Linked DNA regions of Homo sapiens: region 2 is linked to region 1. Evidence: promoter capture Hi-C in 16 types of primary human blood cells and fetal thymus (Javierre and others, 2016). All regions are on one chromosome and are shown on one strand. The core of a region is centred on a gene start or on the middle of the fragment in contact, and the rest is flanking DNA. Distances in the headings are between cores, read along the strand shown. Region 1 holds the start of OR5M10 (olfactory receptor family 5 subfamily M member 10). Region 2 holds the start of OR5AP2 (olfactory receptor family 5 subfamily AP member 2).

Region 1 (2,724 bases), core at 158-2,657:
GACCTCAGGTGATCCACCTATCTCTGGCTCCCAAAGTGCTGGGATTACAGATGTGAGCCACCATGCCCGGCATCATTTTTTTAAAAATGTAAAATTAGCCACCCTATCTGGAGCCTCACTATGGCTCTATGGATAGTAATATTCAAAGGGGTTGGATTTTCAGAGTTTCTCTCAGGCTAAGTTAGTTAAAAGTTTACCCCCAAGTAAGTAAACCCAGTATTTTCATACAGAATTATTAGAAACCAAACAATTTATATTCATAGAATCTCTGACAAATAAAACATTATTAATTTCAACATTAAGCTTTTTATTTTTAAAAACTAAATCTTCAAAGTGTTAATTTTGAGAAGAAACTAAAGTGGTTACTAAGAGCCCATACTGTTAAATAATAACTACACTAGGTTTTTCCATTTCAGTTTGTTACCCCACAGGCACTTAGGGATTACAAATAAACACAGGCCTAAACTGCAATTTTACAAAAGGATTTTCCCCTAATCATTTGTTGTATGGCAAGGATTACATCTCTGTTCCGTAGGCTATAGATCAATGGGTTCAGCATTGGGCTCAAAAAAGTATAAAAGACTGCAATTATTTTGGACTCCTCTACAGACTTCTCTGATGGAGGCCTTACGTACATGCAGAAGAGGGTTCCATAAAACAAAGTGACTATTGTCAGGTGGGAAGCACACGTAGAAAAGGCTTTGTGCCTGCCTTCAGCAGAACGGATCCTGAAGATCGCTGCAAAAATGAAAAGATAGGACAGAAGAATGATGAAGAGAGAGCTTGAGAGAGTAAAGCCTGCAACTACAAACATTGCCATCTTTTTGACACGGGTGTCAGAGCAGGCCAGCATGATAAGAGGAGGATCAGCGCAGTAGAAATGATTGATTTCAAGGGAGCCACAGAAGGATAAGTGAAAGGTCAGCAGTGTCTGAGAGAGCCCATTAAGGAAGCCATACATGTAAGGCACAGTGACCAGAGAGATGCAAATGTTCTTGGACATCCTGGAACTGTAATGTAAAGGGCTGCAAATGGCTACATAGCGATCCAATGCCATTGAAGCAAGGAAGTAAAACTCAGTGATCACTAGGGCGATGAAGAGAAGACACTGTGTGAAGCATCCAGCGTAGGAGATGGTCTTCTGTTCTGAGAGGAAATTGTGCAGCATATTTGGAGTAACATTGGAAGAATAGCAAATGTCTACAAAGGAGAGGTGACCAAGGAAGAAATACATGGGTGTTTGCAGTTGGGAATTGGTCCTGATCAGCAGGATCATGCACAGGTTGCCTGCCAGTGTGATTAGGTAGATCGCCAGGAACACCCCAAACAGGATCTTCTCTAGCACTGGGTCGTCTGTCAGTCCTAAGAGAATGAATTCTGTCACTATGGTGTGGTTTGGGGACAACATCTTCTTATTTCTTGAAAACTGAAAGTGACAAAGAATGTGAGGATTCTCTCTGATCCAGATTTGGCATTTGTTTCATCCATTTATCATTCACTCATTCATCTATTCATCTAGGCACCAATTACTTTTTTCAATAAACACATCAGAATTTCTGCACAACGTTTTCTCTTTATATGTGTGTGTTTTCTGTCTCTTTTTGTATCTCAAACCCACACACACACAGGCACATTCTCTATTTCTGTCTCTTATATATATACATTTATAAATTTATACATTAATGCATTTATACTTGTCTTCTTGGTGAATTCTACATTTGGTAATTATTTTCAAGGTTTGTGAGGGAACAAAAAAAACAAAGAAATGAATATCAGATATTAATATTAGCATCATTTAAATAAATAAATGTAGGAAGTCCAATCTTCAGTTTCCCTCCATGTCTGATATCTTATTATTTCAGATACAAAACAGAAGAAAAAAATTAAGGTAGCATTTTCACTTAAAACCTATGACTGTCGGCCGGGCGCGGTGGCTCACGCCTGTAATCCTAGCACTTTGGGAGGCCGAGGCGGGCAGATCACGAGGTCAGGAGATCAAGACCATCCTGGCTAACACTGTGAAACCCCATCTCCACTCAAAATACAAAAAAGTAGCCAGGCGTAGTGGCGGGCGCCTGTAGTCCAAGCTACCGGGAGGCTGAGGCAGGAGAATGGCGTGAACCCGGGAGGCGGAGCTTGCAGTGAGCCGAGATCACACCAGGGCACTCCAGTCTGGGCGACAGAGCGAGACTCCGTCTCAAACAAACAAACAAACAAACAAACAGAAACCTATGATTGTCAGTGAACATTAAATTAGTTAAACTTAGTGCTTGATATATGGCTAAGAATATACAAAACCAAGAACTGTTTTTTCACTTTGAAATTTTACCTGCCTGTTTATTCATGTACACTGACTGCATAGCTTGATTTTTTTGTGTGTATTACAATTCCTGGGGTTATTGGAGTGAACAAATTTTCCAGTTTCATGGAGCTCACATTATAATATGAGAAATAATGGTTAAACCCACAGAGAAAGATACATATTATAATTTCAAGTAAAAGCTGGGTCTGTGAAGAACAATGAATGTGAGATTCTTTTAGATGACTATTCAAAGTAGCCTTTTCTGAGAATGCAACATTTGAACAGTAAATAAACAATTATAGCACCTGAAGGAAGAGAGTGAAGTTTTTTTGTCTCCATTTATATGCCACTAAACTACTTATTAAAATATTGTTAGAGAATCACAGAACATTGTTAAAAGCAGTCTTTGCTGCCAACTCAAG
Region 2 (2,796 bases), core at 119-2,618, 65 kb after region 1:
CTTCTGTCCAATCCTGCTCCCCTCACTATATATTGTTTGTGAGAACACTCTGATAAACTTTCTGCCTAAAAATATCTCTCTGTCTCAGTTTGTTTGCCCAGAACCCAAAGACACCAATGTTTGTATAATAAAACTCAGACTGAGATAAGCTTAATATTTAAATTAAAACTTAAGTCCAGATTAGCCAATTCCAAGTGTTTTGATACTTTTTCCAGTCCCAACCTTCATCTAGTGTATTGGTGCATCAAAGGGACCCGTGTGTGTGTGTGTATATATATATGAGATACTAGGATATTAAAAAGTATACTTCATTTTAAATTATCTACTTTAACACAGAGAAACAGCTTAAACAATCAGAGAATACAGTTAACATGAAAATGTATTTTCTTCTACGTAACAAATGATGGGTAACATGGCTCTACAAGATGTGTTTCCATAAGATCTTCTTTAGGGCCTTTTTTACATCCTTATTTTTTAAACTATAGATGAGGGGATTTAGCACAGGGATTATTACTGTATAAAAGACAGAGACAACCTTGTCTTGCTCCATTGAGTAGCTAGATGTAGGGCGCAAGTACATGAAGAGGATTGTTCCAAAGAATATGGTGACAGCCATGAGGTAAGAGGCACAGGTGGAGAAGGCTTTGTGCCTGCCCTCTAACGAAGGCATCTTCAAGACGGCAATGAAGATACACAGGTAGGAAATGAGGACAATCATAACACAGCTGATGACAATAAAACTTGAGAATGCCATGATCACAATGCCATTGAAGTGGGTATCAGAGCAAGAGAGTTTGAGCAGTGGCGGGGTGTCACAGTAGAAATGGTTGATCCTATTAGAACCACAAAAGGACAACCTAAAAGTCATCCCTGTATGTATGGCTGCATTTCCACAACCTGCTAAGAAGGAGGTAGCTATTAGCAAAAAGCAAATTCTCCCAGACACGAGAACTGGGTAGAGCAGGGGGTTCCAAATGGCTGCATAGCGGTCATATGCCATCATGGCCAACAGGAAGCACTCAGTCCCCAGGAAGGAGCCAAAGAAGTAGAACTGGGCAGCACATCCATGAAAAGAAATGGCCTTATTCTCAGCCATGAGGTTCACCAGCATCTTGGGAGTGACGGAAGAAGAGTAAGAGGCATCTACAAAAGAGAGGCTACTGAGAAAGAAATACATGGGGGTGTGGAGACAGAGATCAATCTTAATCAATACAATCATCCCCAAATTGCCCACCATGTTTGCCATATAGATCAACAGAAACAATGCAAAGAGGACTCCTTGTAGATCTGGATTGTCGGAAAGTCCTAAGAGGAGAAATTCTGTTACTTCTGTTTGATTTCTGCCTCGAACCTCTTTCATAAGTCTCATCATTTGAGCTGCAATAAGAAAGAAGATGCACAGTGGAATTTAGTCAGATGAATACATGATGGAGCTATAATATATTTTTAGTGAAACAACTTCTAACAGAAGAGCAAAAAGTGAAAAGCATAATAAAAGGTATGTTGGATTTGATGCCAAATCAAAAGACTTGTAGTACTAGATGTGCTGTCTACTAATGACTGAAGCAAGTGATTTAGTGTGTATTAACTATGGTCATTCCTACAGTTAACTCTTTATTGAATAATTAAAATAACTTATTCTTAAGATGTGACTGTCATAATTACTTGTGATAAATAAATTAATTTATATATACTGACATACCCTCCAGACACAACTTCTGGAGAAGGATGATAGAATGAATTCAGGACACTTACAATTCCTCCTCAGTACTAATAGAATGAATAAAAATATTGAAAGTTAATAAAATTAATCTATAGTGCCAGACAAGAAAAATAGTTGGGCTGGGCCTGGTGGCTTACAACTGTAATCCCAGTACTTTGAGAGACCAAGGCAAGGCAGATCACTTGAGCTCAAGAGTTAAAGACCAGCCTGGGCAATGTGGCAAAATCTCCTCTCTGCAATATTTAAAAAAAAAAAAAAAAAAAGCTATGTGTGGTGGCTCATCCCTGTGGTCTCAGCTACTCAGGAGGCTGAGGTGGGAGGATTGCTTGACCCCAGGAGTTTGAGGCTGCACTGAGCTGGGTTTGCACCACTGCACCACTCCAGCCTGTGCAGTAGAGTGAGACGGTGCCAAAAAAAAAAAAAAAAGAGAAAGAAAGAAAGAAGGAAACAAAGAAAGAAAGAAAGAAGGAAGGAAGGAGAGAGAGAAGGAAGGAAGGAAGGAAGGAAGGAAGGAAGGAAGGAAGGAAGGAAGGAAGGAAAAAAGAAAGAAAGGAAAGAAAGAAAGAGAGAAGGAAAGAAAGAGAAAAGAAAGAAAGAAAGAAAAACAGCAGAATCTCTTGGGGTAGAGGAAGAGCTTAAAAATGCCTGGCCAAAGAAGAAAATAGAGAATATTCCCACACAGCCAGTACAGTTCGAACCCCACTCTGATTTTCCATAATAAACATCTACAGAGAACAGAATAGGGTCAGTTAAATAGTAATTTTCCACAATTCATTCCAATATTTAGAGAATCAGATTGTAAGAATGAGTAGGCATCCCCGATAAAAATGGCAGAAGTAGCCAAGCCAGTGAAAATCTCTAATACTCACATTCACAAGTTCTCAAGAGAACCAGAAAACATCAGAAGTAGCACATGCAATTTTTCAGCCACCATACTTAATCAAGGGAATAATTTAATACCAAGTAATCAAAATGGAAATAAGAGTCACCCTTTGCAAGGTGTAATGAAGACAAACATAGGATAAGAAAAGTAAAAGAAATAAAAAAGAAAATTCAGAATAGATGCCCAAACT

Evidence for each region. The method cuts DNA at HindIII sites, captures the fragments that hold promoters and counts their contacts. A CHiCAGO score of 5 or more calls a contact.
Region 2: the fragment with the promoter of OR5AP2 here is called in contact with the fragment with the promoter of OR5M10 in region 1 in 7 of 17 cell types (neutrophils, fetal thymus, activated CD4 T cells and 4 more); the score reaches 10.9 in neutrophils.

The regions. Positions count from the first base shown.
Region 1 is chr11:56,576,314-56,579,037 of GRCh38, forward strand. OR5M10 (olfactory receptor family 5 subfamily M member 10) reads right to left here and starts at 1,408. Exons shown (of 1, transcript NM_001004741.1): 1 at 461-1,408. The coding sequence starts at 1,408. The coding sequence ends at 461. The HindIII fragment of the contact is 7,953 bases long and covers 302-2,724 here.
Region 2 is chr11:56,641,071-56,643,866 of GRCh38, forward strand. It overlaps OR5AP2 (olfactory receptor family 5 subfamily AP member 2), which reads right to left and starts at 1,369. Exons shown (of 1, transcript NM_001002925.1): 1 at 419-1,369. The coding sequence starts at 1,369. The coding sequence ends at 419. The HindIII fragment of the contact is 8,469 bases long and covers 148-2,796 here.